Regions from separate parts of the Homo sapiens genome. Here regions 1, 2, 3, 4 and 5 are each linked to region 6. Evidence: promoter capture Hi-C in 16 types of primary human blood cells and fetal thymus (Javierre and others, 2016). All regions are on one chromosome and are shown on one strand. The core of a region is centred on a gene start or on the middle of the fragment in contact, and the rest is flanking DNA. Distances in the headings are between cores, read along the strand shown. Region 1 overlaps WWOX (WW domain containing oxidoreductase). Region 2 overlaps WWOX (WW domain containing oxidoreductase). Region 3 overlaps WWOX (WW domain containing oxidoreductase). Region 4 overlaps WWOX (WW domain containing oxidoreductase). Region 5 holds the start of WWOX (WW domain containing oxidoreductase). Region 6 holds the start of MAF (MAF bZIP transcription factor).

The links. The method cuts DNA at HindIII sites, captures the fragments that hold promoters and counts their contacts. A CHiCAGO score of 5 or more calls a contact.
Region 1: a fragment that was not itself captured here is called in contact with the fragment with the promoter of MAF in region 6 in 2 of 17 cell types (neutrophils and monocytes); the score reaches 5.6 in neutrophils.
Region 2: a contact is called between a fragment that was not itself captured here and the fragment with the promoter of MAF in region 6, in 5 of 17 cell types (naive CD4 T cells, naive CD8 T cells, naive B cells and 2 more). The highest score is 10.2, in naive CD4 T cells.
Region 3: a contact is called between a fragment that was not itself captured here and the fragment with the promoter of MAF in region 6, in 1 of 17 cell types (endothelial precursors). The highest score is 7.2, in endothelial precursors.
Region 4: a fragment that was not itself captured here is called in contact with the fragment with the promoter of MAF in region 6 in 1 of 17 cell types (monocytes); the score reaches 5.2 in monocytes.
Region 5: a contact is called between the fragment with the promoter of WWOX here and the fragment with the promoter of MAF in region 6, in 2 of 17 cell types (naive CD4 T cells and fetal thymus). The highest score is 6.9, in naive CD4 T cells.

What each region holds. Positions count from the first base shown.
Region 1 is chr16:78,511,829-78,515,819 of GRCh38, reverse strand. The region is part of intron 8 of WWOX (WW domain containing oxidoreductase); the gene reads right to left. Among named protein-coding and RNA genes, the nearest start is that of WWOX-AS2, 14 kb to the right of the region's middle. The HindIII fragment of the contact is 2,881 bases long and covers 186-3,066 here.
Region 2 is chr16:78,115,846-78,120,050 of GRCh38, reverse strand. The region is part of intron 4 of WWOX (WW domain containing oxidoreductase); the gene reads right to left. Among named protein-coding and RNA genes, the nearest start is that of WWOX, 18 kb to the right of the region's middle. The HindIII fragment of the contact is 1,266 bases long and covers 991-2,256 here.
Region 3 is chr16:78,135,183-78,139,269 of GRCh38, reverse strand. All of the region lies in intron 4 of WWOX (WW domain containing oxidoreductase), which reads right to left. Among named protein-coding and RNA genes, the nearest start is that of WWOX, 38 kb to the right of the region's middle. RefSeq lists an enhancer at 590-759. The HindIII fragment of the contact is 3,396 bases long and covers 529-3,924 here.
Region 4 is chr16:78,495,654-78,499,838 of GRCh38, reverse strand. All of the region lies in intron 8 of WWOX (WW domain containing oxidoreductase), which reads right to left. WWOX-AS2 (WWOX antisense RNA 2) reads left to right here. Exons shown (of 2, transcript XR_007065129.1): 2 at 3,408-4,185. Among named protein-coding and RNA genes, the nearest start is that of WWOX-AS2, 2.3 kb to the left of the region's middle. The HindIII fragment of the contact is 7,347 bases long and covers 1-4,185 here.
Region 5 is chr16:78,098,404-78,102,358 of GRCh38, reverse strand. It overlaps WWOX (WW domain containing oxidoreductase), which reads right to left and starts at 2,705. Exons shown (of 9, transcript NM_016373.4): 1 at 2,474-2,705. The coding sequence starts at 2,580. RefSeq lists an enhancer at 1,972-2,471. The HindIII fragment of the contact is 3,217 bases long and covers 1,436-3,955 here.
Region 6 is chr16:79,599,079-79,602,791 of GRCh38, reverse strand. It overlaps MAF (MAF bZIP transcription factor), which reads left to right and starts at 2,055. Exons shown (of 2, transcript NM_005360.5): 1 at 2,055-3,713. The coding sequence starts at 2,890. It overlaps LOC101928230 (a long non-coding RNA gene), which reads right to left and starts at 1,905. Exons shown (of 3, transcript NR_188556.1): 1 at 1,803-1,905; 2 at 442-745. RefSeq lists an enhancer at 1,846-2,140. The HindIII fragment of the contact is 16,856 bases long and covers 1-3,713 here.

The sequences.
Region 1 (3,991 bases), core at 377-2,876, 1.1 Mb after region 6:
AGGTGCTGACTTATTGGAAGAAGACCCTGTACCCTCCGCTAAGTTACCTTTGCAGAAGAAACTGTTGCAGAAGTGCTGAACACGCAGACCTAGGGCAACGGGCAACGCGCAGTCTGGCAGGTGAAAAGGCAGGTGTGGAAGGGAGCGGCTGCGAGGAGAGGCCGGCAAGAAAGCTGACGGAAGCTTTCCATCTCACCTAGGCATCCGGCCTGGCTCTGCACAGAGATAGCTATGTGATGCCCGGATGGTTCCACCAGACGTTTCTAAAAACGTTCATAGACAACATGCAAGTCACCTACCTCTTCTTGCACACTTCCGGGGAAATGACCAGTACACCAAGCAAACCATTAGAAATAAATAAAAAGAGCTGGTGTCTCATCTCAGTGTGCCTCTCAAACACAGATATGCCATTTAATTCCTTAAGTGTTAGTTAAGTAACTACGATGAGCTTAGCTGTACGCAGAGTCTGAAATTACATCTTCAATTCCCTCCACACACGAGATCTATTTTTTTCTCATTAGAAAAGTAACAAAATCATTTCAGAAAATAGTCAGCTATGGAATAGTATTTTTTTGTTTGTTTTATTTTCTGTTTCTGAGACAGGGTCTCGCTCTGTCGCCTAGGCTGGAGTGCAGTGACACGATCTCGGTTCACTGTAACCTCCGCCTCCCGGGTTCAAGTGATTCTCCTGCCTCAGCCTCCTGAGTAGCTGCAATTACAGGCGTGAACCACCAGGTTCAGCTAATTTTTTTTTGTATTTTTAGTAGAGGTGGGGTTTTGCCACACTGGCCAGACTGGTCTTGATGTCCTGACTTCAGGTGATCCACCTGCCTCGGCCTCCCCAAGTGCTGGGATTATAGCCATGAGCCTCAAAAACGCCTGTGATTCTCAAAACACAGACCATGGCCATCTTGCTACCTGATATATGAAACTTCACTTTATGGGGCTGTATTCCCAGCACTCAAATAGTGAGTGGCACATAATAGATAATTCATTGGTCTTTTCTGAGAGAAGGGAGGCAGACAAATTATAGTAACATTATTTATGTATATCTATTTTCAATGCCTGTGTGTTTATATAGCCAGAAAACCACCCTGTACATACTGTTTTTAAACTGCTTATTCCACTTAATAATAAATTGCCAGCCTTTTGCCAACACTAAATGCATTTTTTAAATGCATCAAGAAACTCTTGCTATCTTGCCCTGGGACAGGTAAGGAAATCTGGTACACTTATCGGTCAAGGAAGCTGTTATCAGCACCAAGAGCTCAGAGGAAAGGCAATGATGCCTATCTAAGTGTACCAGGGCCGCAGATTAGGACCACTTCACCTTTGCTAACTTTTTAGCTCACTGCACTGCTTTTACCTCCACACATGGAAAATGTATCTATCCTTTGTCAAGCAAACTAATAGTGAAAACCTGCCAAGGAGAAAAATTTCATGGACCTAATAGTGAACTCACAAGCTGTTTTCAAGCAGTTGTACATGCACACACTCAATGGCAGCTGTTGCACATAATTAATGTGCTTATTATACATAATTATCTAATTACTAAAGGAGGGAGTCAAAGCAAGTGTGGGAGGAAAGATATTAAAATCTGCTCTTTTTAGAATGTTCTATAACATAGACTAGGTTGCTGTATCTGAAAGTCACTCTCTAAGTTTTTTTCTGACGTCTGAAGCCTCTATAGAGAAAGTCTTTCTAAATGCTTGAGCAGTATTTATGGGGTTGGCTGATTTTGAGTCATTCTATTAACAGAATAGGTTTCTCAATAAATACTATATAAAGAAAATTGTGACATACAACTATTCTTTCGCAACACTGTGTGAACCAGGACTTGTAACAGACACCTGCAAGGGAAGAGTTTCCCAATGGATGTTCCCAAGAAGACTGTCATACAAAGTGATACAAGTGGGGGGGGGGGGAGTGGGAACTGTAATATAAATTTAGAAAACACTGTTTTTCGACCAAGTGTTCCCTGTAAGGTTGATTCCAAGACGTGTAAAGTATGCAGGTGGATGGTAAGTGGTGACGTAAGTTTGGAAAATACTATTCGCTCCCCTTCTTAGAGGGGTATATGAGACATTTACATACAAAGGCTCTGATAAGTATTGTATTTCTCAAATATTAATAGTTTTGACACAGAATCCTTTTACACCACCTCTGTATATTTGTAAGTATCAGTGGGACTCACAGGCAATTTGTATTGGAGGACAGGCTAATATTTTACTATTTCCCCTGGATCATTCCTTCACCAAAAGGTTAACTTTCATGTTGAATTGAACCCAAGGTGGAATTCAACCCAAAAGCAACCATCATACAGTAAGATACATGAAAAGCTAAAGCAAACTCTACCCATTGAAGGAGTCTCAAGGAATGTCATTTTCCAGTGATTCCTAGCCTCACTGATTCCCCCACCAGGGCAGTGGATACCCTATCTCAATCATTATTTCCTACGACCCAATAATTACATCTTTTATCAAATGTTGCCCATACCCTCTCTTGAGAATATTCAAGCTCCTACAAATTCCACATCTGAAAAGAGAGCCTCCTACTTACATAGAAGAGATAATTTAGCATCTTTGAAGTATAATTTATTTTATTAATTTGTCAATTCATATCCTGTCTCCTTCCAAAAATGATTTGAGGCATTTGTTTTAATGCTATCATCAAAATTCAATGGGCCATGACCAACGGAGAGAATGAAAATACAAACCAGTTGGAATCTCCAAAGGCACATGTTCATTACGTTTACTACTTAACTTTAACTTTTAATCTCGGGCCATAAAAATTGTCCTAATGAAAGGTCCACAAATATCTCCTAAATGTGCAAAGCAGCAGCTGTGATGACCCACAGCATATGCAGGGCTCTTTTCACTAATGGGCCTTCCTGCCTGGGACTGCCTGAAAAGTAAGACTGGGTAACACGCAGATCCAGATTCTTCCAAAGTGATTCCAATGGGAGGGCTGCATTCGGAAGCAAAGGGACTGCTCTGTTTCTGTTTTTAAATTCAATTTCAAAGCAATGCAACAGTAACCTTCATTGATTTACAAGCCAGTCAAGCTTATTTTAGCATCACTAGTGCAAGTACTTGTGAAAAAATTAATTATTTACCACATATACATAATAACATGAAAACCTGCGAAATGAGTCTCATTGAAGTCCCACCCAGAAATCTTTCTCATCCTTTAAGGCTCCGCACATAGTAGGGGACTCAAGTCCTATTTGCTGAATGAACAAATGAACTCACTCCACTTGAGTATTGCTTTTTTAAAAATTCCATTTCTAATCATGCATTCAATGCTAAGTAAATACAATTAATTGCCCAATAATTTAAAGTGATAAAATGGGTTTTGGTGAACACGTTTAATTCTACTCAACACATTTTTAAAATCAGAAACACTCAAAACTCAGTATTATTTTTCCCTCAAACCTCTTACAAATTGAATTCTGGAAATAAATATACTTTTAAAAGTATATTATCATCATAGTGCATTTCTGCATGAACAATCCATAAGAGTAATTGCTTTTATAATGTGATCCATAAATGCAAATTTACAGGAACCAGCAATTGATAATATTAAATATCGGGAGTTTCTTCTCCATGTATATGGCTTTTTCCTTTTCTGTAATACACCATTCTGAGGAAACACCACAGGGCTGCTATACTTGATCACACAATCTTTATCATTATTTTTCCAGCGTTTTAAAATTAAGTGCAAGTTGCATTGCTAAGTTTAGAATCTTGGATGGAATAACTTGTGTTTGAAGCCAGTGTCTCTAAAACCCTTTATTTCTGATGCCCAGCAAGTTTGATACAACTTCTTTTCATATGTAAAGTGGATCTATGAGATGCTATCTTACCCATTCAACGCAGAAGAATGTGTAAACAGAAGTAGCTGGGTATTTTAGCAGTAAACGGATAATGTCATAAACAGCATGTTGTATTTAATATTCAGATCAAGACATCTCTGTCTCATTCCAGCAGAC
Region 2 (4,205 bases), core at 374-2,873, 1.5 Mb after region 6:
TGTTTGCAGGAAAAAAAGTTTTGTTTCTGTTAATGGGTCCTTTGGCTCAAAAACTGTAACGAAGCTAGGCTATTCTAACTTTAAAGTTACAACACACATGATGCAGCCCAGCGTTCTAAAGGTTCGCAAGGTGAAAGAAACTTCATCTGGACCAAACTCTGAAAAAAATTTTAAAAATCAAGTTTTAGCCACTGCTGGTTTAGGACTGAAAGTTAAGAAGTTTTATCATCATTACCACAGAAGAGTAGACTGAAAATATCTAATTTGTTCATACTTGCTAATAGCATCTGGGCACAGTGGCTCACACCAGTAATCTCAGTACTTTGGGAGGCTAAGGTGGGAGGATCACTTGAACCCAGGAGTTTGAGACCAACACCTGAGCAACACAGTGAGACCCCATCTCAAACATTAAAAAAAAAAAAAAATTTAATGGATGTCTCACAAACCCTGGATGTCACTCCGTAAATATGATAATAAATCTGTCTGCTTACAGAAAATAATTTGCATGCGCTCCAACAAACATCTAGCTAATTAAGACAATGAACAGAGTAGGTGGTCCCACATTTAGGCATCCAACTAATCCCTCATTAGAAGGATCCTGCCTTTGATGAGCAACATGTCAGCCTGCAGGTAGCAGGGGGCAGCATTTTATACTAAAGTATTTATATGCATAGCCAAATTAGCTGACTGATAGGCTGTGTCTAAAAACGAAGCAGGGACCTTCCTCAATGCGAAATTCCCTCGCCTAAAAAAATTCCCTTTCCTAACACTTCCCAACATTTGCATGTAATGTTCACCGTGCTGAAGGCATTTCCGTTGCTTTTACCAAATCAGAGCCAACAAGCTGCTAACTCCAAAGAGTCGTAAAACACCTGGCCCTTCCTGCTCAGTCTATGTTGAACACAAACAGAAATGAATTCCTCCCTTGTCTCTACTGGTTAGCATTCAGGACTGCGGGGTTCCGGGCCTCTTGATCTCCTAGCGGAAGCTTTGGGTGAAGAGATGGCTTCCCCCTGGATACTGAGATGCTGATCTCCACAGAGAGAGGTCCACAAGCTACAGCTTTCAATCTACAAAGTTCTTCAGGTTCAGAAAGCTGGTTAAACAAAGGTCAAGGAGAGAAGAGTGTTAGTTTCTGAGGAGGCAACATTCTAATCCTTGCAGCTGCCTAAAAAAAAGGCGGGGGTTTCAGGCAACATCCCCAACAGTTACATACAATGTGCTGCCACAGTCTTCCTGGGGCCTGGGGCATTCCATTTGCCTAAATTTCATCTAAGCTGTGGCTAATTTAGAGAATGTTAGGGTGATATCACTTTCAATGAACTGGAGTATCTAACATAGCAGTCGGCACTTTTTTCTGGGAAAGGCCAAAGAGTAAATATTTACAGTTTTGCGAGCTAGATGATCTCTGCCACAACTGGGCGACTCTTCTGGTAACAAGCAAAGGGCCATATTATTTTGGGATAACTGAATATACACAAACAGTAGTTCAACATTATAGGAATGGGAATAAATGGGCATGGCTGTGTTCCAAAAAAAATTCTACTTACAAAATCAGGCAGTGGGTCAGAGTTAGCCCAGAGATGGCAGTTTGTTCATCTCCAATCCAGACAGTTGAATCCAGTCAGCAGCGGTAATACCTGCCTATAAACCTTAATTATAAAACCTAGGACTTCATGAACCCACAATGCTTTATTCTGACATTTCCTCCAAATCCTTTTATCTGTCAGAATCCCTGATTTTTTTTAGATGAATTAAGAATCCCTCCAATTGCCTTAGTAATATCAGTATCAAAAACTCAAAATACAGCTCCGTATCACTTACAGCTGCAGAGAGGAAAATGATGACAAGACAGAGTTTGCTTAGAGGCCACTTCAAAGGGGGCATGGCTCTAGTGCAACCCTAAAGTCTATCAAGGGAGGGATGTCCCCTTCTTTATCAGTGAGATCCTCACCAATGGCAATTCCAACAAAGCAGCGTCATATGGGGCATTAAAAAAAAAAAAGAAAGAAAGAAAGAAAGAAAGAACCACTGGAAATACTAGATTTGCAAATCGGCCTTTGTAAGGCAAATTAGATATCTATGTTTTTATTGTGGAGTCACCACTTTCAAAATAAATCCTGTTATGTTATGTTTCAGCCCACCCCGCCTTAGAGAAAACGGACATTCACAGGGTTAAAGATTTCACGGTTTATCCAAAGAAAACAGGCTCCCTTGAGTGGCCAAAGGAAAGGGAACACCAACACCATTAAAGCTTAGATAGAATATGACTCCTGAATGCCCCAGAAGTCTTGGAAGTAAAGATGCCCAATTCACTCACTCGGCATTCAGCTATTTCATTTTAAATGAGCGGAACTAAAGTAGTGATAGCAATTTATAAATTGGCATGTTTCATAGCTTAGTAGAAGGACTTTATCTAGAAGCCACAGCCTACTTGGGCAAGGACACTTTCTAAGGCAGCCACGCAGGATATAAAAGCTAACTTAGCAAAGCCATGTGCCTATCTGCAGCCTCTTCCTTTCTTCAGACCTGATACCACTGCTGCAGAGTGCAAGTGATTTGTGAGTTTTTGATTGCCTGGAACTTGCAGTACGATATTATTTCAAAAATTCAGAATAAAAATCTTCACCACTCACCTAGACGTATGCTTCCCAAGAGTGGAGGGGAATGGGGTGAGGTGACAGTGTTAAAGGCCATTCCTGCGGAAGGTGACAGCTGGGGAAAGAGCTGTGGGCACTTGAATAGGAAAGGCTGGTCTCCCTAAGACCTTGTGCGACATCTGTGCCATCCTGAGCGTTACAATTTGCCACAACCTCCAACTGGACCGCAGACACCTCCTGCAGTGTCCACAAAATGAATTATAGGTATCAGGAAGGAAGAGTCTTAGGGGGAAGTGGGAGCTGTGAAGAGGCACAAAGAGTTTCTGGCTTTACTCCAACATGTGAGGGCCATTCTCAGCAACCACAAATTTATTCTCAATGCTTCAGAATCTCCTCCTCTCCATCAAGACTTATGTATCTAACTAGATATCACCCTTTTAATATTCTGAACCAACTCTATCAGTCCTGGATTACAATGTCGCAGGTCTGCTGTTGCAAATCTTTGAAAGAGCATTAGCTCTATTCAAGAGTCTGCTATCTAATGTCACATGGAGCAGTTCGAACACTTAACACAAAAAACAATCAGTAGTCACATATCTTACTCATTACAGAAAAAGAGTCTAGCTAGAAGATTAAGAGAATAAGATCTTTAAAGTTTCTGGCTAACTTGTTAAATTGTTAAAAAGACATTTTTAAGCCCTTAAGTCCTTTTTTCTTAATTATTCCACAATTGTATGGGTCCATGCATTCACTGTAACAGTACTTAATATGATCAACAAAATGTATTCTTCTTAGATTGGGGATCCAGCCATTGTTTTAAATATTACGCCATCAGTTTTGACTTCAATGACAATTATATAAAATTTACTCCAATGCAGAAGTTCAGACAAGTGGATTGAACATATTTGGAGCCCAGGATGAGGTATGAGAGTTGATTTGAAATAAAATCCTTTCAATTCTTAAAAAAAAATTTCCATTTGCTTCTTTACCTTCATAGGCAAGTACAGTAAAAAAATTCTCCACTCGGATGGCAACCTGGTAGATTTCACACCTTGTACAACACAATAATTGACCCTTGAACAATGTATTTTTACCTCCTGTGCCTCCCTAATCATGCTAGAAAATATTTCTGCAGCTTCAAGGAATTGTTCAAAATTAAGAAAGAAGTGCAGATGGTTAATGGGTACAAAAAAGATAGAAAGAAAGAATAAGACCTACTATTTGATAGCACAACAAGTTGATTATAGTTAATAATAACTTAATTGCACATTGTAAAATATCTAAAAGGGTATAACTGAATTGTTTATCACTCAAAGGATAAATTCTTGAGGGGATGGATACCCCATTCTCCATGATGTGACTATTTCACATTGCATCCCTGTATCAAAACATCTCATGAACCCCATAAATATAGACACCTTTATATACCCACAAAAAATAAAAATAAAAACAAAATTAGGAAAGAGAAACAAATGAGTAGAGGAGGGCATCAAGGGGGCCGTGTGAGGGCTGCGGGGGACCAAAAGGACAGAGAGAACTTGACAGAAGACAGCCAAATGCAACGTTTCATATGTCGACAAATCTGAAGATGCATATCTAAACTCA
Region 3 (4,087 bases), core at 977-3,476, 1.5 Mb after region 6:
TCCTTGCAGATTTTGTCCATTGGTCCTGGTTCTGTCCCTTGAAGAAAGCTAGGATTATCTCTCTCCTAGATAGCTACTGAGAGAACTAATTTACATAAATCTTTTCTTCTACCAACTAACCAGCCATTCACTCTTCCTTTAAGGGTTGCTCCTAGGACATGACCCAATGACTTTGCCATCCTTTAGCCTGTCTATGCGCCACCCCTAAATGAACGTAATATTCTAGATACGGTCTGATTGGTGGGACTGTGTACCTTTCTTTACAACAAACCATGAAGGTTTCAACCACCCAGAGGTATAAACGGGTTGTCTGCATCAGAGGCCTCGTTGCAAATGTTAGGAGTTGCAAGAAACAGTTGCATGGGGGGAACATCTTTGAGCAGCTGTAGGTAATAGAGATGCCAAATGATGATTGCAATTCAGAAGCCCCATTTTGAGCACTTGCTCCCCACTCACATCCGTGGAGTGGCGCATTAAGCACTTCGCTGGGACTCTCCCGCAGCGTGCTGCACGTGGTTCTTGAAAGCTTGATTACGGTCTACAGCAGTTGGGTGATTGCTACTGAAGGCAGGCAGATGCCTGGTGACTTCTCAGGGTGGGCTGTCCCCAGTGTGTTTTATGACCATGCAGAAAGGAAAAATAAGGAATTTAAAAAATCTTCTTTCAAAAGATATGGATTCTTATCGGACTTTCATTCCTTAGTAAAGTTGCATTAAACCCAGAGACATTTATTCTTTAATTTTCCCTATTCTCTCATATGGAAGGTAGGAAGAATTTGCACTCAGGCCCCACTGAAAGATAAGTGCCAGATTCACTCCTGTCCTCCTTTCCCTTTTGGTTTTCACATCCTTATTCTGAGCTAACCACATCACGAGCACATCTTTACTGCTCAACTGAGTTCTCCTGAAGCATTATAAAAAACAAATCAGTTACATGTTTTAAATATCCGTTGGCAAGCATCATAGCATGGCTCTTAATCTGAGAAATAATTTTAATTAAACTAAAAAGAGGTAAGTCATTGAACACACAATAATTAAACAGCAGACTGTGCTGTCAGCAAAACTGGGCTGGCTCTTGCAGGATTATCAGAGGGACTGGCGTTGTCATGTGATGTTTTGTGACTCTTCTACAGTCCTACCATCAGCTCTCGTGAAGAGGATGCAGCGAGCCATTTAGACAGTTGGCCAAGAACAGTCTGCTAGACAACTTTCCTCATTGCATCCATTATAGAAGCTGATCAGAAGAATTCTCATTTTCCTTGAGCGAGGTTCTGTTTCCTTTGAACAATGGTTTGCTCACCCACTCTGTTCCTTTCACTTCCTCTTGTGCTGTTTGTGATATCCACACACTATGGATAAGATTTAGGTCTAAACGGATAAGGAAAAAGACCTGCTTTCATATATCAATTCTATTAAGAGTATGGATACTGCTCAAGTACAGCACATAGAGCCATAGCTTTGCAAAAAACTTTTATTATCTGTTGACAATTTTGCACACTACCTAAGAGCTGTCAAATAAAACAGGCCAATTTTTATCAAACTCCCAAAGTGGAACAGAGACCACAACAACTTTAGAATCCCTCAGCAGACTGTTTCAGGAATCTAAAACCCAAGCAAACCCTTTTTCCCTGTTTCATATGACGGTGCATCTTAACCCAGCTCCTTTTTACCTACAAAGAAAAACGGTAATTCCCTCTGTGGCGGCATATATATGAAGTCATCCATAAGAAGAAAATAAGAACTTGGTCCTAGACACAAAACAATACGTAAGGAAATTCCTCATGGACTAACACAAGCGGTCAGACACCACACTAGTTGCTTTCATTCCACCTTGTCGAATTCTCACAACTCTGTGATGCTGACGTCATGGTTCCCATTTTACAGATGAGGAAACTGAGACTCCGGGGTGAAAGATACTGTGCCAGGCCCCAGAATTGGCAAGCTGGAAAGCATAGACGTCAAAACAGCACGTCTAGTTATCGGAGGGTGAGGATTCACAATCCAAAAGAAAACTAGGGGGTGGACACACATTTACGTTGCAGTCTTATTTCCCAAGGCGTCATAATTTTCATCACTCTCTTATTGGTTGCAGGAGGAAAAAGGCATCTTCTCCATTTCAGATGTGTCTTTCTGGGTGAAGGGATCTCCATTTGCGTTAACATCCCTGACCCCCTCTGCCACTCACTTATTCCTGCTCAAGGGAGCTGATCCAACTTATGTTGTGAATGGTATGTGAATGGTAATTCCAGGATTGAGAACCGGGCACACGCAGCTCTGCCTCTCCTCTCCTCTTACAGAGAGCACACACCCTGCTCTCCTGCACTGTCTTGAACATGCTGCATGAATGGGGTCTGCCCTCTGCGAAGGTCTGGCCTGACCTAGCACTGACCCATTACCCTGTCTAATTGTGGTGGTCAGGATTAGAAAGCCCACCAGCTCACACAGCTATACATATTCTCCAGTATCAGCTTCATGAATGACTCAGGTGATGTTTTGGTCTTCCATTTGCCTAATGGGTGGTCTTACTGCTCAGTTAGGTAGTAACTTGGGAAAGGGAAACTGTGTTATTTGATAGACCTCTTAAAACCCAAACATCTCTTTACAGGTTAACGAACCAACCTGTGCTTAGATTTCTCTAGTGAGAGTAAAAAGCTCTACGTTCCTCAAGTCTCTGTAATTTAAGAATAACACGGCTACACATTTCATTTCAGTTTGAAACTCATAAACAGATGTGATATGACAGCACTTTATTAGGTTTTGTCCTCTAGATTTGAAAGAGCTCACAGGCCCCATGATGAAGACTAGATCCAGTAAGGTCTAAAGAGAGAGACATGACTCAATGAACACCAAAGCAGACACCCAGGAAACAGCATCCTTTGCTCACCCTGTCCTGGGAATCAAATAAGCCTGTTATGAATCTGAATGTATATTACAAGCAAATACTATTTTTCCAGCTACACGTTCTTCCTTGTTTCACTGTATCACAATAATTTTTTAAAAGCATAGGGATATCATGAAATCCCTTGCTTTGTAGAAGATTCCATTATAAGAGTAATCATTATTGAACCTTTTAGCCCAGATGTAATTTCTTACATGTTACAACAAGTTTGGCACGCATTGTGAATTTCAGCCAAGGTTGATAAAGTTCAATAACTTGGCTAACCAACCATGTGTACTACTCATTATAGAAGTAATAAATAGATTCATCAAAATGGACATGAAAAAGCCATAAGAAAATCGGATGCCATTTCCAGCCTGCCTCATAAAAGCACCTCTTGGACTTTAATATAATTTTATATATAGTTATCACAACTGCCCATCATTCAACACCAGGCATCTATAAAACAATCACCCACCCACATTTGCATGCTGAATAAATTCCAGCTACAAAGGTGAATTCTCTATTCTAGACGTCTCAAAAGTCACATAGAGGTACATGTGCTTATATGTTCAACTCCCAAAAGGACTGACAAGTAAAAAAGGAATCACAGATCGACATGTCATTTTCCCTGCTATTATCTTTTTGAGTCAGTTTTAGTGGAAGGTGTTTTTTTTGTTGTTTGTTGTTGTTGTTTTGTTTTTTTTTCAGTAATACTGTCAGTCTAATTATTCTCATAGCCTATTGGTAATTGAAAAATTTAGTAGAAAGAAAAGAAAGCCTGATTTAGATAAATGTCATGGATAGAAAAAAGAAATCTAAGTTCACAGAATGGAAGAATCTCCTATGATTAAATGTGCAGAAGTCAGTAAAGCTGGCTTCTATAATAATATCTAAACAACATTAACAAAATTGAATTTAGAAGATTTGAATTGAAGATAACTTCAGCAACTGTATAGTTAAAAATCCAGATTCTGCCTACTGTACGTCTTTTATGCTTCTAAAAGGAAACTCAGACTCTATTAGACATTCAAGGAAACTAAAGCTTCCCCTCCTTCTCAGAAAGAAATAGTCCCTCACACTTGGTAAACCACAGTAGAGCTCTAGTGTCAAGCTCTAAACTAAACATGAAAAGGCACGTGGTACATTTCAAACACTGTCATGTGAACACTTTGCTAGGTAAATAACGACTCTTGAGTTGTTGCACGTG
Region 4 (4,185 bases), core at 1,510-4,009, 1.1 Mb after region 6:
GTCTCAGCATCCAGAGACAATGGGACTTCCAGTGCCTTGGCCTCGATTTCTTACAAATGCGTTCCACGGATGTATTTGACAGAGGCTGGTGTCAAGTCCTGGGCTGGATACTGGAGCTACAGATTAAAAAAAATAAGACATGGTTCTTATCCTTAAGGAGTCAAAGCCTAATAGGGAAGAGAGTCGCAGGCACAAACAACTACCAGATGGTACAACTAGTGCTCTACACTAAGAGCCGGCAAAGGGGCCCTGGGCCAGGAGGCAGGAAGCCCGTCCACCGCCCGGCATTGTGGACTCAAGGAGACAGCTGATGAGTAATCTGCAGTCGCTGCTAGTTGCCAAAGAACGGAAAATCTCCATGAGTCCCACCTGACCACTTAGAAAGGTTAGCTATGGTAAAAAGTGAACAGGTGGGATACAAGCCAAAAGACAAATAAGACTATGAGACTATCACAAAGGGGCTGGTGGACAGCCAGGGGGTCTCCCGTGGGCCAAACCCATCCAGAAAGACTACAGAGCATGTGTGCCACCCCACCACCAGAAGCAAGGCCACACACATAAGAACATCGTAGCTTGCTGCCTTTCCACCACCTCCGCCCCCTCACCCCCCCAAAGCAAAGCCATCTCACTGAGCTAGGGCCAGCGTGGACACCTTCAAGTGTTAGATACGCACTATCACCGTGCATCACGAGGAAAGAGAAGGGCCCACATGGTTTTCATACTTAGGAAAATTCAGCTTTAATCAAACTCAGTTAATTATTGACTCAACAAGGATGAAACTACAATAAAACCATTTTTGCCAGAGGCCAAACTATTAAGAAACCTCGTGTACTTCATAGACAAAAAGCCTTCAGAAGTATTCCTTGAGCCTTCATAATATTCCATCTTAACAATCATTATTGTGCTTATCTCTCAATGCCAATAAAGGAGAGACAATCGAGGAAGTTGCCTATGTATTTAAGGAAAAAAAACAGACCAGTAACAGTGGCTCCTGCCTGTATTCCTAGCATTTTGGGAGGCCAAGGCAGGAAGACTACTTGAAACCAGGAGTTCGAGATTATAGTGAACTATGATCATGCCATCATGCCACTGCACTCCAGCCTGGGCAACAGAGCAAGATCTGTCTCTGTTTAAAAACAGAAAGAGAGAATGGGGAATCGGCCTAAGTAAATGCCGCTGCTCTCCTTTACAGAATTAGTGAAACAACAATGTCCCTTCTGAATTTTTCTTGCCATGAACATCTCCCAATCCTTGTGTGTTGCTCATTACCCTTTAGGCCAAAGGTGTGCAGCACTTTCTCGGTCTCTGTCACCTTCAACTCCTCATCAATAGCCTCACACCTTGTGCTTCTCAGTGGGTAGAGTTTTATCATAAGATTTGTGAGCAGGCCATGTGTGGTTTAGAAAAGGGGCTCTTCCTGAAAACCTTGCCCCTAGGTGGGGAAGGGGTGGGAAGAGATGTGCCTGGTCTATCAACTGTGAAATCACTGGCCTGAGCCCCATGAATTACAGCCTGCAATTTACAGAGCAATAAAATAAACCACAAAATACGCTTTAAGAAGTCTAACAGCATTATTTTTCTCCTCCTGCTTCATGGTGACAACCCTGATGCTTTTTTTTCTTTTTTTTTTTTTTGAGATGGAGTCTTGCTCTGTTGCCCAGGCTGGAGTGCAGTGGCACAATCTCGGCTCACTGCAAGCTCCACCTCCCATGTTCATGCCATTCTCCTGCCTCAGCCTCCCAAGTAGCTGGGACTACAGGCGCCCGCCACCACGCACAGCTAATTTCTTTTTGTATTTTTAGTAGAGACAGCATTTCACCATGTTAGCCAGGATGGTCTCGATCTCCCGATCTTGTGATCCGCCCACCTCGGCCTCCCAAAGTGCTGTCATTACAGGCGTGAGCTACTGCTCCCAGCCCCCTGATGCTTTGTTAAAAATACCAAATTCCCTTTAAAATGTGGGCTTTTTTAATTTTTTTATAATTCTCAGTAACTCCGGTGTATAATCTACCATTTATTGATTTATTTATGATAAAACAACCTCTCATTGTGAAAAACAGCTAAGGGTGACATCTCCAGACCCAACCACTGTCCCTGTAATGTCCTGCTGAGAGTCCACATTTTGGAAATCCAATCATGAAGAGTGATTAGACCTAATCAAACAAGTATTTATTCAACACACAATAATGCTAGATGTTGGAAGGGCCATTTTTACATCAGATTCTTTTCTTGCATTTACGCTGTGTGTACATTTTGAATATTAACCCCTTATCACATGTGTGGTTTGCAAATATTCTCTTTCTGTAGGATGCTGCTTCACTCTGTTCATTGCTTCCTTTCTGTAAAGAAATTTTTTAGATTGTTGTAATCCCAGTTGTCTATTTTTGCTTTTGCTACCTGTTTTTCGGTTCATATACAAAAACACTCATTGTGCAGACCAGTGTCATGGAGCTTTCCTCCTTGTTTTCTTCTACTAATTTTACACTGTCAGATCTTATGTTTAAGTCTCCAATCCACTTTGAGTTGATTTTTCTATATGGTGTGAGGTAAGAAAAGAACAAATTCTGAATAAAATTGGAGGAAAAGCTAGAATCAGAGCAAAAAAATGAGTATGTGCTGTGGAATCATTTGGTCAACTTCCTCATGTGCATATGCTATTGAGTCTTTCCAAACACCACCACTCTCAAGCATGAGCAGACATACACCTAACAGAAGGTCATCTGTTGTTTTATGCCAAAGCAAAAGGCATACAATAGACGGCTTGGGCCTTAGCATCCAACATCCCCAAATCTCCCTGCAGAATAATTTCTGACTTTGCCTTCCTCCAAAGTTTCCCATTACTAACATCTTTGCCATAGTTAACTCCCTTGATTTGAGCATTTCATTCTCCTTCTGGATGGCTTGAGAGGGCGGGAAAGGAGAGAATCAATGAGCAAGGCCATCTGGCTTCAACAGTCATTCATTCCTCTCCTTCCATGCACATGGCACAGCAAAAGGGGTTTCCGGAAAGTTGGAGTGACTTCTCCATGTCTTGGGGCCTCTTCCTCAATGCACTTCCCATTTCCCTGGGCACAGCAAATGCAAACACACAGTAAGAAAGCTAATAATTTGTTTGGTTTTACATAGTGAGTTGTCAGTGATGTTGTCTAAAGGGACACCTGAAACCACGAGTAAACCAGAAACTTGGGGTGCATAGAATGCATCCCTCCCTTCAAGATCTTATGCACTAAAGAAAGCAGTGTAATGGGACAAATCCATTTCCCAAAACATGTCCATGGAGATTCAATGGTCATAGAATGGTACACACACCTTTGATGTTATCATAGTGGTCAAGTTAATTGAAAACAGCCACGCAATGCCAACCCCGTGCTAACACGTTTGATTCCTCCCTTAAATTCCATTTACAGGTCATCACAGATAGGAAATTCTCCAATAAGGTCAACACGACAAGGACATCTGCAGTGATCTTTCTACATGCTCTGCCAACTTGGCACTCATCTATAACTTTAGAAGAGGAGGCAGAACATCAGTGATGACTGCAAACATATGCTTGATTTTTTTAAGCAACGGGAAAATGAAAAATGAACGGGAGGAGGGAACACTGCTGCCTTCTGAGGACAGAAGTCGTGTTTCAAGTAGTCAGGAGTGATGGGGAGGTGGGACGAGAATGAAGATTTAGGGGAATCTGAACAAAACAAGGTGGTGTATGGGGAATGAGGGCAGTCAGTAAAGCCAAATAGTACCAGGTGGAAAAATAGCCTAAAAGAAGTACAAGTCTAATCATCCAAAAATTCTAAAGCAAAACTAAAACTCCATAGTTCAGCAAAAGACACCCTTTCAGGTGTTTAGAAGACTGTGGTTATCCGTTTAAAGATGTTCCTCTCTCAAGGAATCTCTGAGAACTATAAATGTGTTTATTAATTTTTATTCTTTACCTAACTAGTAACCGAAAATTATAAACGTAATCCACACTCACTGAAAAAAATAAACCAAGCACAGATTGGTTCAAAGTAAAACATGACCATCTTCCTGGCCGGGCACAGTGGCCCACACCTATAATCCCAGCACTTTGGGAGGTGGAGGCAGGGAATCATTTGAGGTCAGGAGTTCGAGACCACCCTGGCCAACATGGTGAAACCCCGGCTCTACTAAAAATACAAAAATTAGCCAGGTGCCGTGGCGTTG
Region 5 (3,955 bases), core at 1,456-3,955, 1.5 Mb after region 6:
CCTGCCTTAACCTTCACATTCCTGGACCCTCACAAAGATCACAGGCCCCTGGACAGGCCATGCAGGGGGTCTCTCCTCTCACTGTTCCCTCTACCTAGACTGCCCTCCTGCCCCACCCACCTCTACTTGAGCTCAAAACACCGCTCTGGGCTTGGCACAGTGCCTCAGGCCTGTGATTCCAGTGCTTCGGGAGGGAGGCTGGCTTGAGTTCAGGAGTTCAAACCAGCCTGGGCAACATGGTGAGACCCCATTTCTACAAAACATGTAATAATTAGCTGGGTGTGGAGGCACACACCTGTGGTCCCGGGTACTCAACAGGCTGATGCGGGAGGATCGCTTGAGCCCAGGAAGTGAAGGTTACTGTGAGGGTGCCACCATATTCCCTCACGACCCCCCCAACTACCTACACACACCTCATGCCAGACACACTACTTCCTGGTATACACACTGCGTGGGGACGCTCCTACACATGTCACTGTGCCCTAATAAGATTGGGTCCTAAGGATGACAACTGGCTCTTATTTGCCTCGGTATAACCAGTGCCAGCCAAAGGCCTGTCACATAATACCTGTGTGTGTCTTGAATGAACTCATCAGAACTTGGTTGTTTTTCCTCTACCTTGCCACCAAAGGCAGCAGTGGTTCACATCCTTGCATAGATTAGAATCACCTGGGAGGGAAGATTTTACAACCTACCAAGGGAGAGGGGAGGGGCCAAACCAATTAAATCAGAAATTCTGGGCTGACGCAGTGGCTCCTGTCTGTAATGCCAACACTTTGGGGGGCCGAGGTGGGCGGATCACTTGAGGCCAGGAGTTGGAGACCAGCCGGGCCAACAGCGCGAAATTAGCCAGGCCTGGTGGCGGGCGCCTGTAATCCCAGCTATTCGGGAGGCTGAGACACGAGAATCGCTTGAACTCGGCATGCAGAGGTTGCAGTGAACCGAGATCGCACCACGGCACTCCAGTTTGGGCGACGGAGCGAGACCCTGTCTTTAAAAAAAAAAAAAAAAAGGCCGGGAGCGGTAGCTCACGCCTGTAATCCCAGCACTTTGAGAGGCCGAGGCGGGAGGATCACGAGGTCAGGAGATCGAGACCATCCTGGCTAACACGGTGAAACCCCGTCTCTACTAAAAACACAAAAACTTAGCCGGGCGTGGTGGCGGGCGCCTGTAGTCCCAGCTACTCGGGAGGCTGAGGCAGGAGAATGGCGTGAACCCGGGAGGCGGAGGCTGCAGTGAGCCGAGATCGCGCCGCTGCACTCCAGCCTGGGCGACAGAGCAAGACTCCGTCTCAAAAGAAAAAAAAAAAAGAAAAACCCTCTGGAAGTGGGGCCCAGAAAAAGGCTCTTACAAAAAAAGTTTCCCAGATGCTGAAAATCAGATTTACATCCATGTTTCTCAAAACCAGGTGATATTCCACCTCACCTGGAAAGCTTAAAAAAAGAGACTCCCAAAGTTGAGAGTCGGCTACAGTAGGTTCTCTATGGAGACCCAAAACGTGTATTTAGGACATTTCCTAGGTGATTCTAAGGTGCCGATATAAGAGGCACTGTCGTATCTTAAGAGCAATCAAGGAACGACAGTTAAGGAACAGAGAGTACCTACTAGACACGGTGCTATGTGCTTTACGCACAGTGCCTGAACTGACCCTCGTATCAACCCATTTTACAGGTGAAAAAACCAAGATTAAACGTTATTTCAATGGCCCAAGGTCACACAGTTAAAGATGAAGGCTCTGCTGGGGTTTCCAAAACTTTCCCAGGAAATGATAGTGAAGCTATCTAGGACTGCTACTAAAAAATACTCCTGGCTAGGCGCAGTGGCTCACGCCTGTAATCTCAATTCTGGAGGCTGAGGCAGGTGGCCTGCTTGAGCCCAGTAGTTCGAGACCAGCCTGGGCAACATGGTGCGACCCTAGTCTCTACAAATACTTAAAAAATTAGTCGGGCATAGTAGTGCACGCTTGTAGTCCCAGCCACTCAAGAGGCTGAGATGAGAGGATTGTCTGAACCCAGTAGGTAGAGGCTACAGTGGGCTATGATGGCACCCCTGCACTCCAGCCTGGATGACTGAGCAATACCGGTCTGGACAAAACAAAACAAAACACAACAAAACTCCTATCCCTGCAACCCAGAGCCTGCAGGAGGGAGCTGAGCATGTGCGCTTTTTAAAACATCTTTATTTTTTGGCGGGGATGAGGCCGCTTTGCCCTCGCCGCGCCGCGCAGTGCTGCATCCTGAACAGCAGAGGGCGCGCCGGGAAGCCACCAGGTGACCCCCGCTGGACCCGAGGCCCACCAAGGGGGCCGGCCCCTACTGGGAACCCTGGACCCTTTTCCCTGAAGCTCCTTAACAGTTACTTTCACTTTGCACCGCACGCGCTGCGCTGGAGTGCGCGTCCTCCCCGCGCAGGTGGCGTCCGTGGGCTGTGCAGGGTCCCAGGTGCGTCCGCGGCCCCACTGCGGCCCCCTTACTTGGCGTAGTAAACCCAGCCGTCCTTGGTGGTTCTCTCCTCCCAGCCCGGAGGCAGCTCGTCCTCACTGTCCGTGTCGTCCAGCCCCGCGTAGCGCAGCGCTGCCATGGCTGACTGTGGAGGCACCTGGCCCCCCTATCGCCCGCTGCCGGGTCCACTCGCTCAGGAACTCACTCCCGCTCCAAACGAGACCCGCGCGCGTCGGGGCCCGACCGCTCACGCCTGCGCACTGCGCCCTCCAGGGGCCGCTCCGCCGACCACGAAGCTGAAATCCAGTCTCCGCAATATCGCGACGGCCGGCGTCAAAGGGGCAGGGCCTGGAGAGGAAGGCGGTGAAAGTGCCTAAGAGATCGCGCTGCCGCCGGGCTAGACAGCAAAGCCGGAGAGCGCTCCGAGGCGCTAGAGATAGAGCGGAGCCTTGTCAGCCTCCCCGCCGCAGGGAAGGGGCGTGCGCATCCAGTTTCGGGCCAGGACTCCGCCCGTTGCTGGGCGACCCGTAATCACTTCCGCGTTGTTCTGGCCAATCCTGCAGGAGCCCGGCAATTGGATATGGGAAATGTAGTCCAGGTGGCGCCTGACCAAAAAGCGGCGCCCGACTAAAAAGCGGCGCCCATGCTGTTGTCCTGGGCTTCTGTCTCTCCTTGCCTTGGGGTCTCGTGAAAGTCCGTGATCACAAACCTTCCAGGGCTTGCCAGCATTCGTGCTGATTCACAACCTTTGTTTTGCATATGAACACAATGTTAAAATATAACCTGGAGAACTTAAAACTGCTGATTCCTGATTTCCTGGTTTTAGAGAACTTTCTTTCAGCCAAAACACATAATAGAGACTGTGATAATAGAGACTGTTGTTTAATAGAGACTCATGATAATAGAGACTGATGATAATAGAGACTGATTGATAATAGAGACTGTTGATAATAGAGACTGATGTTTACGGAGCACTTAATGTGCGGTCCAGGCCAGAAATGCACAGACATCACATGTAGCTGACACCTTTGTGTAGTGGGCACAACTCAGACAGGGTAGCTAGGCCGGGCTCAGTGGCTCATGCCTGTAATCCAAACACATTAGGAGGCTGAGGCAGGAGGATCACTTGAGGCCAGGAGTTTGAGAACAGCCTGGGCAACATCGCAAGACCCCTGTCTTTACCAAAAATAATTATTTTTTTAGTTTGCCGGGCGTGGTAGTGCACATCGGTAGTCCCAGCTACTCATTGAGGCTGAAGGGGGAGGATCACTTGAGCCCAAGAAGTCGAGGCTGCAGTGAGCTATGATCGGGCCACTGCACTCCAGCATGGACGACAGAGAGAGCTGCTGTCTTTAAAAAACTGCCTCACCTTTAGAGAATTTCCTTTAGTAAGTCTGGAATAGGTCCAGAATCTGGAAAGAAAGGGAGGGAGGGAGGGAGGGAGGGAGGAAGGAAGGAAGGAAGGAAGGAAGGAAGGAAGGAAGGAAGGAAGGAAGGAAGGAAGGAAAATAAAA
Region 6 (3,713 bases), core at 806-3,305:
TTTCTGAGAATTACTTTCCAGATAAACAACTTTATAGCACTGCACTTAATCTTACTTACTAGAGACATCTCATTTATCACTGAATTACAAGTAACTTTAATCCTATTGATATTGCCATAAAGCCCGTTGAAAATCCATCCTGGCACTTTTAAAGGGTTTGGGGCCCTGTTACATGGGGATCCTCTTGCAAAGGTCTCAGCCAGAAATTACACCCCGAGGGTGTCTGTATCCCCTGGCCTCTTTGTCAACAATCAAGGAGAAGAGGAGGGGCAAAAATGATCTCTGCATCTGCCAGCACTTTCTTCGGCCCCTTTCCTATAGGGTCGGGTTCTCCCACTTCAGTCAAACTAACTTTGTGTGTCTCTTTCCTCCTCCCACACTGGGTAACCAGCTGCTTTTCACTTCATCGACAAAACTGGACACGGATCAATTTCAACTGACCTTTGCCGAAAGGTGGCGCTGTTGAGGTAAAAACCAACTCGCTCCAACAATAGTTTCCACTCTTCGATCCTTTTGCAGGCTTTTCAGAATTTTTTTTTTTTTTTAATGCACCCTCCTAGCGTCTCCCCCTTCTCATAAAGTAAAATAAATACGATTAAAAACACCAAATGCATTTCATTAATTGAAGGAATCAACAGTCCCAACTTCTAAGCAGACGGGCTGGTCTTCCAAAGGCTGGGTCGGTTTCAGGAGCTTTCTCTCCAAATAAATCTCTGCTTCTTCGACTTGCCTATCGCTTTAAAATCTTAGAAACAGAGTTAGTTGTTGGTTTCCTTCTTTTTTCTTTTTCTTTTTTATTTCTTTTTTGCATAAACTTTTAGAGAATCAATCTAGAAATTTGAACTACTTATTAGCATTTGCAACTGGGGGTGGGGGGAGCAGCCTCCCCCACCCCACCCCCCACTCTGCGTTTCCGGACTAGTTCCAGAAACCGCGGTTTAAAATTTAACCCTTCGAGGGTAGCTGGTGAGGGCTGGGGTATTGTTTTTCCCCCTTGCTCCCTGCCACGATCAAGTCCGAAATAATTAAAGGAAACGTAAAAGTGCAAAGGGCGCGCCTGACCCTGATAAACAGAGGTCAGATTTCGTAAGGGGACGGGTGAGTGTGAGTGTGTGTGTGTTTGTGTGTGTGTGTGTAAGAGAGAGAGAGAGCGAGCGCGCAATATGAGTCTCAAAGGCCAAACTCCGGCCAGTCAGGAGCCGGAAGGCTGAGCCCGGCTGACCTGACTTTGAGCTTCCCCGGAGTTATCTCGCATAGGCGCTCGCTCTGTCCAAGGGCACGCGACGCCAGCGGGCAGCCGGTCTCCGTGAAGAATGGCCTCTAAACAACTTATTTTACCTCGTTGTAAAGAGAGGGATAAAATGGGCTTTCCCTCTCCACGGATGCCCAGCCTTCTGGGCAGGCGCATGGCCGGGCGGCGCCCAGCCCGCAGCCCCGATCCGGACACCCCACTGCATCCCTCCCTTCCCGGTCCCTTCCCCGCACGGGCGCCCGAGAGACGGACAAAGAGTTGGGGCCAAGTTTGAGCGCCGGGCACGGCCAGGCTCAGGGAAGGAAGGTCCCCGGCAGACACCTGGGTACCAGAGTTGGTGCGAGGAGGAAAAGCTGGGAGGCGAATTCACAATCCTGGGGGTGGAGGGCAGGCAGGGGAGGGGAATCAGGCCAATCCCAGCCGAGTGAGCCCCCAGCGAGCTGGGGCTCCGGATGGGAGGCCTGTCTCGCGCTCCAAAGAAAAGCAAACCGCCCTCCCAGGTCCGCCCGGATTGCCGAAGCCCCTCTGGAAAAACTCCTTCCCCTCTTACACCAAACTTTGCGCCGGGCCTCGTTCCCTCCCGGGTAGGCAGCGGCGCAGGAAGGGTTAAGCCAGCCCGTCCCAGCTGACAGTCAGCTGATTGGGCCCTGATTGACAGCTCCGAAAAGTTTCCTTGTTTCTATACTATTATGCTAATCGCGGCCGCTCTCGCCGCCTCCCATTGGCCCGGAGTGCCAGTCAATTTCTCATTTGGACCTGACGTCACGAGTGCTATAAAACTCAGCAATTGCTTTAAACTCTTCTTGCTGGATCAGAGGCTTTAAAATCTTTTTTCATCTTCTAGCTGTAGCTCGGGCTGCTTGTCGGCTTGGCCTCCCCCTCCCCCCTTTGCTCTCTGCCTCGTCTTTCCCCAGGACTTCGCTATTTTGCTTTTTTAAAAAAAGGCAAGAAAGAACTAAACTCCCCCCTCCCTCTCCTCCAGTCGGGCTGCACCTCTGCCTTGCACTTTGCACAGAGGTAGAGAGCGCGCGAGGGAGAGAGAGGAAAGAAAAAAAATAATAAAGAGAGCCAAGCAGAAGAGGAGGCGAGAAGCATGAAGTGTTAACTCCCCCGTGCCAAGGCCCGCGCCGCCCGGACAGACGCCCGCCGCGCCTCCAGCCCCGAGCGGACGCCGCGCGCGCCCTGCCTGCAGCCCGGGCCGGCGAGGCGAGCCCTTCCTTATGCAAAGCGCGCAGCGGAGCGGCGAGCGGGGGACGCCGCGCACCGGGCCGGGCTCCTCCAGCTTCGCCGCCGCAGCCACCACCGCCGCCACCGCAGCTCGCGGAGGATCTTCCCGAGCCTGAAGCCGCCGGCTCGGCGCGCAAGGAGGCGAGCGAGCAAGGAGGGGCCGGGGCGAGCGAGGGAGCACATTGGCGTGAGCAGGGGGGAGGGAGGGCGGGCGCGGGGGGCGCGGGCAGGGCGGGGGGGTGTGTGTGTGAGCGCGCTCGGAGGTTTCGGGCCAGCCACCGCCGCGCAAGCTAGAAGCGCCCCAGCCCGGCAAGCTGGCTCACCCGCTGGCCACCCAGCACAGCCCGCTGGCCCCTCTCCTGCAGCCCATCTGGCGGAGCGGCGGCGGCGGCGGCGGCGGCGGCAGGAGAATGGCATCAGAACTGGCAATGAGCAACTCCGACCTGCCCACCAGTCCCCTGGCCATGGAATATGTTAATGACTTCGATCTGATGAAGTTTGAAGTGAAAAAGGAACCGGTGGAGACCGACCGCATCATCAGCCAGTGCGGCCGTCTCATCGCCGGGGGCTCGCTGTCCTCCACCCCCATGAGCACGCCGTGCAGCTCGGTGCCCCCTTCCCCCAGCTTCTCGGCGCCCAGCCCGGGCTCGGGCAGCGAGCAGAAGGCGCACCTGGAAGACTACTACTGGATGACCGGCTACCCGCAGCAGCTGAACCCCGAGGCGCTGGGCTTCAGCCCCGAGGACGCGGTCGAGGCGCTCATCAGCAACAGCCACCAGCTCCAGGGCGGCTTCGATGGCTACGCGCGCGGGGCGCAGCAGCTGGCCGCGGCGGCCGGGGCCGGTGCCGGCGCCTCCTTGGGCGGCAGCGGCGAGGAGATGGGCCCCGCCGCCGCCGTGGTGTCCGCCGTGATCGCCGCGGCCGCCGCGCAGAGCGGCGCGGGCCCGCACTACCACCACCACCACCACCACGCCGCCGGCCACCACCACCACCCGACGGCCGGCGCGCCCGGCGCCGCGGGCAGCGCGGCCGCCTCGGCCGGTGGCGCTGGGGGCGCGGGCGGCGGTGGCCCGGCCAGCGCTGGGGGCGGCGGCGGCGGCGGCGGCGGCGGAGGCGGCGGGGGCGCGGCGGGGGCGGGGGGCGCCCTGCACCCGCACCACGCCGCCGGCGGCCTGCACTTCGACGACCGCTTCTCCGACGAGCAGCTGGTGACCATGTCTGTGCGCGAGCTGAA